Linked DNA regions of Homo sapiens: all the other regions are linked to region 2. The links are contacts of gene promoters, found by promoter capture Hi-C in blood cells and fetal thymus (Javierre and others, 2016). All regions are on one chromosome and are shown on one strand. The core of a region is centred on a gene start or on the middle of the fragment in contact, and the rest is flanking DNA. Distances in the headings are between cores, read along the strand shown.

Evidence for each region. Contacts are between HindIII fragments. The CHiCAGO score rates a contact against its expected background, and 5 or more counts as called.
Region 1: a contact is called between a fragment that was not itself captured here and the fragment with the promoter of EXPH5 in region 2, in 4 of 17 cell types (non-activated CD4 T cells, naive CD4 T cells, total CD4 T cells and 1 more). The highest score is 5.6, in non-activated CD4 T cells.
Region 3: a fragment that was not itself captured here is called in contact with the fragment with the promoter of EXPH5 in region 2 in 5 of 17 cell types (naive CD4 T cells, total CD4 T cells, non-activated CD4 T cells and 2 more); the score reaches 6.4 in naive CD4 T cells.

What each region holds. Positions count from the first base shown.
Region 1 is chr11:108,065,170-108,069,369 of GRCh38, reverse strand. The region is part of intron 7 of CUL5 (cullin 5); the gene reads right to left. Among named protein-coding and RNA genes, the nearest start is that of ACAT1, 54 kb to the left of the region's middle. The HindIII fragment of the contact is 3,557 bases long and covers 1-3,512 here.
Region 2 is chr11:108,591,441-108,595,265 of GRCh38, reverse strand. EXPH5 (exophilin 5) reads left to right here and starts at 1,498. Exons shown (of 6, transcript NM_015065.3): 1 at 1,498-1,848. The coding sequence starts at 1,730. RefSeq lists silencers at 1,312-1,611, 1,632-1,681, 1,962-2,021. The HindIII fragment of the contact is 3,661 bases long and covers 1-3,400 here.
Region 3 is chr11:108,027,936-108,032,067 of GRCh38, reverse strand. All of the region lies in intron 1 of CUL5 (cullin 5), which reads right to left. Among named protein-coding and RNA genes, the nearest start is that of CUL5, 21 kb to the right of the region's middle. The HindIII fragment of the contact is 4,756 bases long and covers 1-3,839 here.

The DNA.
Region 1 (4,200 bases), core at 485-2,984, 530 kb after region 2:
GATAGGCTGCAACCAGATTATGAATGAAAATCTATGATTTGGGGTTTTATTTCATAGGTAGGGAAGGAAGAACAAAGGAAGGTTTTTTTGTTTGTTTAAGAGACAGAGTCTTGCTCTGCTGCCCAAGCTGGAGTACAGTGGCATTACTACATAGCTACTATCATACCTCACTACAGCCTTGAACTCCTAGGCTCAAGTGATCCTCCTGCCTCAGCCTCTTGAGTAGCTAGGACTACAGGGATGTACTATCAAGTCTGGTTAATTTTTTAAACTTTTCTGTAGAGATGATGTCTTGCTATGTTCCCCAGGCTGGTCACAAACTCCTGGTCTCACATGATCCCCCTGTCAGTCTCCCAAAGTGTGGGATTACAGGTGTGAACCATCAGGCCTGGCCCCAAGGAAGTTTTAAACAGAGGATAAATGTAATGAGATTCTCCTCTCCTCAAGTCATTATTAAAGATCAGTATAATGGTAGTAAGGCAGGTGGTAAGGAGTGGGTGGTTGGGATATGGTAACGAGGCTGTTGAACTATTTCAGGTAAGATAGCAAGGGTCTAGTGCTCTAGGAGGCCATCAGGAAAATCTAAATGAGGCAGAAGATATCATGTCATCTCTGCTCCCTCGTGTCATGTAATTATTTACTTCTCTTTTGGGGATCAGATGAAATTAATAGGTTGTGAGGACTAAAGTTAAGTACAATAAGGCTGATATATTTCTTCTGAAAAACAAATCATCTATCTGTAAATTAAGGGAGGCAATTATGTGTCCCTTAAAAATTTTTTATTAAAAATTCCTTTGGAATTGACATAATGTTGGTAACTACTAAAGCTGAATTTAGGTAATGGGGATTCATTATACTGTTCTTCCTACATTGTAAAAATGCTTAAAATTTTCCGAATAAAGAATTTTCTGTGGTCCCTGCGAGTTGGGGGGCTGAGGTGGGAGGGTCAGTTAAGCTCAGGAGGTCAAGGCTGCAGTAAGCCTTGATCATGTCACTGCAGTGTAGTCTGGGCGACAGAGCAAGACTGTCACAAAACAAAACAAAACAAAACAAAAAAAAAGGTTTTTTCAGGCTCCTCTACAAGAATGATGCTGATGACTTTTAAATGCATATATCCATGTATATTTCTGTCCTAAGAAAATAATACACATGGCTGGGCGTGGTGGCTCATAGCCTATAATCCCAGCACTTTGGGAGGCTAAGGCGGGCGGATCACCTGAGGTCAGGAGTTCAAGACCAGCCTGACCAACACAGAGAAACCCCATCTCTACTAAAAATTAGCCGGGCATGGTGGGTGCCTGTAATCCCAGCTACTCGGGAGGCTGAGGCAGGAGAATTGCTTAAACCTGGGAGGCAGAGATTGCAGTGAGCCGAGATCGTGCCATTGCACTCCAGCCTGGGCAACAAGAGCAAAACTCCGTCTCAAAAAAGGAAAAAAAAAAGAAAAATAAAGAAAAGACTACACATATAAAATGGTTAAGAAACTCTTTCCTTGCAAGGTGGAAATCTCTGCCCCAACTGCTGAGTAATCTTATTCTATAACATCACTGGAATAGGCCCAACTAAACACTTCCACCTTAAGCAGTGAAACCAGATTGAGCATAGGTAAATCTAACAATATATAACTAATAGAGAACAAAGACAAAGTGGAATCCTAATAAACTCTAAGCTCTGTGTTTTCTATTTCATTGAAAACTTTCACTTGAACATTATCCTGTTCAGTGGTAGTTGAAATTTTGCAGATTCTAAAAATCCAGACCAGTGTGTTTCAGACTGTATGTTGTGAAATCAGTTTTAATGGCTGTGACCAGGTTTAAAAAAAAAAAAAATGTACATAGGACAGAACAAAAAATATCAGAGTGTATCACATATTGTAACAATGAATATTATTTCATAAGACTTTTGTTTCAGATATGTACAAATAAACAGTATATTCTAAGCCACAATATAAAATGTATTTCTTATGGTGGGTTACAACGAGGATTAAAAGGAGAGCTAAATTGACAACATAATTAAAGTAAACTGAGAAGAATTTGGTAAATGCTTAAATGAAAGGGATTAGGGAAATAAAAGGATGTTGAATCCATTTCTAGCTTGAGAGGTTAAACAAATTATTATAACAGGTATCCTTTAATGGGCACTTACTTTGTACCAGGCATTATGCTAAATGCTTTACATATAGATCTCATTTAACCCACATGGCAACCTCATGAGGCAGATACTTACTTTATGAGGACATAGACTGAGAGTAGCCACATAACTTCCAAATGTTGCACAGTTGGTTCATAAGGTCTTGAGTTATAATTTGAGGCCAGGTATGTATCTCCATAGCCTCCAACTTTTCTTACTACAGAAGTAGAGCATGTACATACTTAGTGATGGCTACATGCTCAGAACTGAGTTACGTGTTTTAAGGAATAGAGAAGTATAAACATGGTTCATGCCCTCAATGATCTTACAATCCAGTTGGAAACCCATAAACTATATACCTAAAAACATGTGTATGGTTCATATGTACAGATGTGTATGAAAAGAAGATCTTCACTAATAAGCAAATAACTGGAAAATGCATCATTACTATACTATAAACTTAAGGACAAAGATTGTGCTCTGTCCACAGCTATAAAGACTGTGCTGTGTCCTGGCACACAGCTGGTGCTTGATAAGAAATACAAGGCAGTCTATAATTTGCTCCTAAACCTAGTGGTAGAAACAATAGTTACCACGGGAATTCAAATAGGAAGAAACTGATGAAGGCTAGATGATCTGAGCTACTTTATTACAATTTTATTACAAGGTGAGTTAAAAGAATCCTTGCAAGATTTTGGGTAGGCAGAAGAAAACACTGCTAAAATGAATCCAAAAAAAAAAGTAACAGAGTGAGTTGTATGAATAAAAAAATATTTCTTATTGGAGTAGAGTGACTCTTGCTGGACAATATTAAGTTAGAAAAATAGGTTAGGGTCAAATTATGAAGGGTCTTAAAAATCAGGGGTATGAAATAATGATACTCTGGTTTTTTTTTTGAGACAGAGTCTCGCTCTGTCGCCCAGGCTGGAGTGCAGTGGCGTGATCTTGGCTCACTGCAAGCTCTGCCTCCTGGGTTCACACCATTTCTCCCGCCTCAGCCTCCTGAGTACTGGGACAGCAGGCATCCACCACCACGCCTGGCTAAGTTTGTTTTTGTATTTTTAGTAGAAACAGGGTTTCACCGTGTTAGCCAGGATGGTCTTGATCTCCTGACCTTGTGATCTGCCTGCCTCAGCCTCCCAAAGTGCTGGGATTAGAGGCGTGAGCCACCACGGCCAGCCAGTACTCTAGTTTTTGAATAGAAAAGTAAAACAATAAAAGTGATGTTTATGAAAGATTATCCTGAATTCACAAAAGAATAAATACAAATGGTCAGGAATAAGAATAAATATGCAGACCAGGCTGGACAACATAGTGAGACCCTGTTTCTAAAAAAAATAATAAAAAATAGAGGAGTGGAGCAAGATGGCCAAATAGAAGCTTCCACCGATCATTCCTCCTGCAGGAACACCAAATTTAACAACTATCTACACACAAAAAAACACCTTCATAAGAACCAAAAATCAGGTGGGCACTCATAGTACCTGGTTTTAACTTCATGTCACTGCAAGAGGCACTGAAGAGGGTAGGAAAGATAGTCTTGAATCGCCAATGTTACCCCTCCCTCATCCCCCAGCAGCAGCTGTATGGCATGGAGAATCTGTGTGCTTGGGAGAGGGAGAGAGCAGCAACTGTGAGATACTGCATTGAACTCACCACCACCCTTTCACAGCAGAAAGCAAAAGTAGGATGAACTCAGCTGACACATGCCCATGGAGGGAGCATTTAGACCAGCCCTAGACAGAGGGGAATCGCCCATTCCAGTGGTAAGGACTTGAGTTCTAGCAAGCCTCGCACTATAAGCTAAAGTACTCTGGGGCTCCAAATAAACTTGAAAGGCAGTCTAGGCCACAAGGACTGTAACTTCTAGGCAAGCAATAACAAATAATGAGATAGAAGCCATAATAAAATTTCTCCCAACAGGTGCAGTGGCTCATGCCTGTAATCCCAGCACTTTGCCAGGCAGAGGTGGGCAGATCATGAGGTCAGGAGAGAGACCATCCTGGCTAACATGGTGAAACCCCATCTCTACTAAAAATACAAAAAATTAGCCGGGTGTGGTGGCGGGCG
Region 2 (3,825 bases), core at 249-2,748:
TAGTCATCTTTCTATTTGTGTATCTCTCCCACTGGATTACAAACTTTCTAAAGACAAGGACTGTGTTGTTCACAGTGTGTGATGCCTTCATGTAATAGGCACCAGGATACGTTGGTTGAAATCAGTTCACTGATATACTGGAAACAGTGTAAAATCCCACCAGTGACCATATTGAAAAGTCCCATGTGTATGCTGAATAAATGAACACACTAGAAAAACTGGACACCATATACAAGACATACTCCCAAAACAGGATCATTAATACAGACACTATTTATAAAGGAGTTCTGTATTGTGTACACCATGGGTGAACAAAATTGGTTCCTGGTTCACACAAATAACAGACACCCACAGAAAGTTATCTGAATGGCTAGCTGCCTAGGCATGTTTTAAATAATGATGATCAAATGGGGTAGCCCAGAGAACAAAACACAAGTGGCAATTTTTGATATCATGTTCTTGTACAGATACAAAATTTTAATTGGGTTTATGTGCCATGAAAAGAAATGATATATGTAGAAGTACATTTTATATGTTAGTAATCATCACCACCATCTTCAAAATGACCAAATTAAGGCTATGGGGCAGGAAAGTCAATCTGACAGAGTTATTTTTGGGTAGGAAGTGAAGCCAAGATAAAAACATGTTTTCTGTAAAAGCCTTGATAATTAAAAAAAAAGTATATATGTGAATATCTTTATAAGTTTCTATTATTCTTCATTGCATTGTGGAACAATTGACTTTCTAGGAAAGCTATTTCTGTGGCTTCATAGGATTACCATTTGCTTTCACCAGAGGATTAGGTATTTTTAAATGGCATGTGTATTACTTCTCTGAGTTTATTAAGATGATAATAAAATCTTACAGAAAACTTCTAACAGGTGTTTTCTACAGTCCTTTGCTTCTGGGCTGTCTTCTCCTAAAATACCATAAACGGTTTTGTTTGTTTGTTTGTTTGTTTCTAAAGTCTAAGAATGACTTTTGTGGGACAGTGGAGGTGGGGGTGTCTGTGGGATGAGAGGCTTGGCAAATAATTCGTTTCCAAGGATACACTAATTTCCGCCCTTCAGCCAGGTTCATCCACAGTCAGTAGTGTAATTGAGTTTAGTTCTTCCTGGTCTTTCAGATAAGTAACCCTTTTGCCAGTTACAAACCCTACTTGCAATTCTATTTTCTATGGGCTCTTAATTATTGAAAGGGAGGATTAGTCATGAATCTCCTTTTTCACTCCTTTACTAATCAAGCTCAAGTTCTGCGAGCAAACAGCAACAGCAAAAGCAAATACTTTGGCGCCAACACTTAGCCTTGCCTCACTTAAGAGGCAGAATTATGTAGGCTTGTTTGCTTAACAACTCAGATAGGGGGCGGGGAGGGTGACCGGAGGGGACGAGGGAGGGGACGAGGGACGGGACGAGACGAGGGAGGGGACGAGGGAGGGGACAAGGGAGGGCCCGCCCCCTTGGAACGGGATTGGTTCCCTCTCTCCCTTTAGCCGTTCACTTTGCATCTCGGTTGGACAGGTTGAGAGAAACATGTCATTAAGGTATTGTCAATATGAGCCCTTCAGGTGTGGGCGTTCCCTAGGTTTGTGGTTTTAGACTTTCAAAGGGGCGGACTTATTATTGGCTGTGGGATCAAGTTCGTGAAACTGGTCTTGTACAGGTTGAAAAATGCCTTCCTAACAGGAGGCGCCAAGGAGCTTAAGTGTAACTCACACACAGTAAAGAAAATGACGAAAGTTCCTCCGGCGTTTGATTTCAGTTTCTTAAATGACGAAGAGGCCAGGAAGATCCTTCAGGTGCTGGAAAGGAATGAGGAGTTACAGAGGGCCGAGAAGGACAGGATCAGGTACAGAGCAAATTCATTTCTTTTGTCCTGGGCCTGGGTCCCGCAGGGGCCGGGGATCCGCGGGGAAGGCGCTGAGCTCGCGCGGGGCACCTGCCCGGGGGTGCTCCGAGCGGCTGCTGCGGAGGCTGCGGGTCGGGAAGAGAAAACTGCGCGGAGTTGCTCCCTGAAGGACTTTGGGATGCTTAGTTGGTACCCTCTCCACCCACCACATACCAGACGGGCTCGGCTGCGGGTCTGGGGTCGGGCAGGGTGGGGGGGTCCGTGCGCTGCGGGGGCCGCGCAGTGACGCTGTGCTGTGCCGGGTGTCTGCTGGGCCATCGCGGGGCGTGGGCCGTTTCAGGCAATGAAATGCGGCGGGGGCGCGATCTGGAGAGGAATCCTGGCTGCTGCTCACTCCGCGGCCCGCGCGCACCCACGTGCTCGCACGGGTCCGACAGAGCTTCCACCCTCGCCTAACGCAGTTTTCCCTCGGCACCAGAGGCGAATCTCCCCACCCAATGCGGGCAGTCAGCGAAGCACGGGAGAGCCGGCACCTCACGGGAGGCGAAAGGTCCCCACCCCAAGGGTAGGAGCTCGAGGAATTTGTCAAATAGAGGCTTATGTGGGCGAATGGGACTTGGACACACGGGGTTGGCTGGAATGGGTGGGTCTTCTTGTGCGTGGTGCTGTGGGGAGCGAGTTTCTGAGAAATTTCATCCTTGACCTTACTATACACTGTTGTAGGTGAGGGATTAGTTACTAAAGAATGAAATCCAGAGACACAGATAATTACCCAGGATGTACATTAACCAGTTTTTCTGCTGGGGAAGTGTGGGATAAGTGCTGGAATGAATTAAAGGGACTCTCTCGCCAATATTGGAATATATCCATCTAAGTCCTTCTCTAGATAACTGTGGAAGGGAATTCAGGACATCACTCTCAGACCACACTGTGTGCCATTGATTGGAATTTAGCAAGTCATTTTGTTTTATGATCAACTGCTTGCTAATGCGAGTTCCAGGTTCCCAATTCTTTCTAGAATTGCCTGTCCCCCACCGCCGACAAAAGAAACCCTCCAGGGACCCTCTTCAAATTGGAAAATCTAGTTGGTCTTTGTAGAAAGAATTAGAATACACTAAGCCCAATGCCCTGACTTCACCCTTCTCCCCTAAACATGACTCTTTGAGGGATGAAGGAATATTTGAGGTTGGGGAATATGGATTTCATACCATCTGCCTTGAGAAAAAGTGGCTTTATCATTCCCCTCCCCTGAACAGTGTAGAAAGTGTGCCTTCAGGAGAACAGTATGCCACACCCACACACACCCACGTGCATAATGTACCTACACATATGCACATGCACCGCACAAGGCACACCCAACTTTCAGAAGAAGAATTTCAGAACTGCACGGAATTTCAGTGCATATTCCAAAGGCACTAAGAAACTGCGGTTATTCTCAGTGTGTGTTATTGGAAATGTTTCTTGTCTCTGAAGAGGATGGGGCTTCTTAAGTGATCCATTGTATATTTGGGGAAATTGAGGGGAGAGTTAGAAAATAACAAGGAGAGAAGCTTTCATTTAAGATGTTATCTTGACTTTTTATTTTTGACCTGATGCTTGCTTGCCTTATTGTGTTTTCTCTATTGCAACTCACGATGCCCACTGCAGTTGACTTTAGAGGGAACTGGATCTCCACATAGATCTACACAAAGCACGTGTATCTACACAAAGCCATTGGGCTGGGCATTAGAAGGAAGGTCAAAACACATTTTCTAATTTCATGGCACTCATATTCTAATGGAAGCATCAACAGAAAAAGCCATAATGCTAAGACAAAATCGATACTGTATTATACTAATTATTAAAAGTATTTAATTGCCCAAACAATTTGAAAAATATCACCATTAAAATACAAAAATCATTTAAGGAAAGTAGATGTGTGGACCAAATACCCAAGGCAATGATTTCTAGTACTGTCTTTTCCTTTGATTAATTCCC
Region 3 (4,132 bases), core at 212-2,711, 560 kb after region 2:
CAATTAGTTATTTTTCCTGATCCTCTCCCTCCTCCCACCCTTCACCCTCTGGTAGGCCCCAGTGTGTGTTGTTCCCCTTTATGTGTTCATGTGTTCTCATCATTTAGCTCCCACTTATAAGTGAGAACATGCAATATTTGGTTTTCTGTTCCTGCATTAGTTTGCTAAGGAAAATGGCCTCCAGCTCCATCCATGTCCCTGCAAAGGACATGATCTTGTTCTTTTTTATGGCTGCATAGTATTCCATGGTGTATATGTACCACATTTTCTTTATCCAGTCTATCATTGATGGGCATTGGGGGTGATTTCACGTCTTTGTTAGAGTGAACAGTGCTGTGATGAACATATGTGTGCATGTGTCTTTATACGACAGCACTGTAGTAACCAAAAAACATCATGGTACTGATATAAGAACATATACAAAGACCAATGGAACAGAATAGAGCCCAGAAATAAGACCACACACCTACAACTATCTGATCTTCAACAAACCTGACAAAAGCAAAAGAGAAAGGACTCCCTGTTCAATAAATGGTGCTGGGATAACTGGCTAGCCATATGCAGAAAAGTAAAACCAGACCCCTTTCTTATACCATATGCAAAAATTAACTCAAGATGGATTAAAGACTTAAATGTAAAACCTAACTTTCTAGTACACCAGCACCAAACACCCTATGAAACTCATGATTTTTTTTTTTTTTTTGAGACAGAGTCTCGTTCTGTTGCCCAGGCTGGAGTGCAGTGGCATAATCTTGGCTCACTATAGCCTCTACCTCCCAGGGTCAGGTGATTTTCATGCCTCAGCCTCCGAGTAGCTGAGATTAGACACGCACCACCACACCTGGCTAATTTTTGTATTTTCAGTAGAGACGGGGTTTCGCCATGTTGCCCAGGCTGGTCTCGAACTCCTGGATTCATATGATCCACCCTCCTCAGCCTTCCAAAGTGCTAGAATTACAGGCATGAGCCACCAGGCCCAGACTCATGATTATTTTTCAGTTATACAAATCTGTTGATATTGCTCAGGTTAAGAACCTGAGATGCATACAGTGATTGTATGGAATATGCAAACTCCCTGAAATTATAACACTGAAACAGTTTGTCAACATATGATCTGACAACAACCTACGTGAAAATCATCTGAGGTGGTGATTACACATACAGATTCCTAAAACCTACCTCAGGCCTACTGGATCGGAATCTCTTGAAGTTAGTCCACAATCTGCATGTTTATCAAATTCATGATAAAATTACATAAAAATAATGTTAGATGGTCTATGACCCAAACTAGGTTAAGAACCACAAATTAACATCATACTCTTATAAATCCTGCTTATATTCACGAACATAGTTCATCCTAAAAGTTAATATACTGTCTTGCTCCAGATGCCTGCTTCTATCACACTGTATTCTTTTTTCTTTTTGTTTTTGAGACAGAGTTTCACTCTTGTTGCCCAAGCTGGAGCGCGGTGGCACGATCTCAGCTCACCGCAACCTCCGCCTCCCGGGTTCAAGCGATTCTCCTGCCTCAGCTTCCCGAGTAACTGGGATTAAAGGCATGCGCCACCAAGCCTGGCTAATTTTGTATTTTTTGTAGAGACGGGGTTTCTCTGTGTTCATCAGGCTGGTCTCAAACTCCCGACCTCAGGTGATCTGCCCACGTCAGCCTCCCAAAGTGCTAGGATTACAGGCGTGAGCCACCGCACCCAGCCACTGTATTCTTATCATAAGGACCCATGGGAGATATCCACTAAAAACTTAGTACTGGGATTAGCTACGCTTCTCTCCTGAACAACTAGTTTCTTTTTACCTTATGGACTTAAATGAATCACGTAAGTAACTTCGCACTCCTCTTAGTGTTGGCTACTGGGAAATTCAGAGTCAGAATTGTGATGCTGCGGCATATACTTTGTACAATAACTTTATGCCTGGCCTCACATTACTTTTTCTACTTTTTATTATTTTCCTGTAACTCTCATTTTCTTCTTTTATTCTTCCCTATGAGGAAGAGGTGTGCAAATAAACAAATATGAAAGAACCATAGAAAGAACACTTTTCTTGACTGACATGGAAAAAAGAATACCTTCTTAACAAGAGGATACTTTCTAATTTCAATTAAGTCTATTTCCACAAGCACTTTTGCTAATTTATAAAATTAAATATAGTGTAAGTCCTGCAATTAAAAATAAAAGGTGCAGAGTACCAGAGTAGACAGGTACTGGAGATAAATTAAACACTGGTTAGGCTCTGAAATCTCCTAATAGACATTGTTAAGTACCAGGAAACATATTTTTGCTCTCCTTTTTGATGGAACACATAATAAACACGTTTCCCTAATACTCAATTTTAAAAGGAATTTAATAATTAATTGTTTTCTATTAAACTTTTATAATAGATTCCAAAAATGATGCTCAAGTAGTTCCTTGACCTATTCTCTATTAAACTGAAGAGCATATCATTAAATCATAACTAAGTGGCAGGACACCAAATCCACTATCTACAAAACAGAATGCCTTATTAATAAGAAAAAGAATCTTCAGACTATGAACCTTGATTTATGTACGTTTTCACTGACTGACTGAAGGCTGCCTCATCTCTATTAACTTGCTACAAAGCCTCTTGAATTCTTTCATTACTATTCAGAATAGCAAATAAGCTGGACTCAACAGTTGCTAGTAGGTCTACAATTCTCTCATTCACTGGCTCTTCAGAGAACTACAACATTTGCCATACTCCTGCCCCTCTATCCTTCACTCCTTACAGCACAACTAATCCCTTCACAGGCACTCTTCTTCTCACACAAATGGGCCGTGGGGAAGCCAACAGGGAGTTGACAATGGGGGAATACCTGGAAAAAGGTATTCTATCCTTCACTCCTTACAGCACAACTAATCCCTTCACAGGCACTCTTCTTCTCACACAAATGGGCCGTGGGGAAGCCAACAGGGAGTTGACAATGGGGGAATACCTGGAAAAAGGGTATTCTAGGCAGAGAAAGCAGCCAATGCAAAGAACATAAGATAGAAACATGCTTAATGTATTCAAGGTAGAGCAAAGTAAACAAAGTGGAGAGAGCAGATAAGGTCATAGAAGTAACTTAGCTTACTGGATCTTACTGAGCTGGATCTTGTAGGACCCTGAAGGCCATTATAAAGACTTTGGTTTCTACTATAAGTGAGATGAAGAGCCATTAAAAGATTCTGAGCAAGAAGTGTCATAATCTTTTTTATTTTTTATTTTTTTTGAGATGGAGTCTTACTCTACTGCCCAGGCTGGAGTACAATGGGGCGATCTCGGCTCACTGCAACCTCTGCCTCCTGGGTTCAAGCAATTCTCCTGCCCTAGCTGGGATTACAGGTGTGCACCACCACGCTCAGCTAATTTTTGTATTTTAGTAGAGACGGGGTTTCACCATGTCGGCCAGGCTGGTCTCTAACTCGTGACCTTGTGATCCGCCCGCTTCGGCCTCCGAAAGTGCTGTGATTACAGGTGTGATCCACCGCACCTGGCCTGAAGTGTCATAATCTTATTTACATTTTAAAATCTCCCTCATTACTATGTTGAGAATATATTATAAGGGGCAAGGGTTAAAACTGGGTGTAGGATTAGGAAGCACTGATGGTGACTTGGACTGAGGTGATAGCAATGGAGGTAGGAGGTATGAGAAGTGGTTCAATTTTAGATGCCCAAAAGGTGGTACTAACAGGACTTCCTAACAGTAAGCATCTGAGATATGAGAAAATGGGAGTAAAGCATGACTTTAAGGCTTTTGTCCAGTAAGTGTGGCACTACCATCAACTAGAATAAAAGAAGATTTGACAGGCTTATTAAGGAAAGCTTGTGAGACTGGTTTTAGATGTATTACATTTAACATATCTATTATACATTCATATGAAAATGTTGAATAGGCAGTCCAATATGGAAATCTAGAATTTAAAAGGCCTATCAGAAAATAAAAACTTGAAGTCATCAGAATACAGATGGGTTTTAAAACCTGTTATTGGATGAGATCACTGTGAGAGAAGTGATACATAAAGATGGAGACCCAAGCCTGAGGTTTTAGATATCCAACATTAAGAGGCGGAGAGAGGAGTAAGAACTAGCAAAGGAGACAAAGAGAGCAACCAGAGCA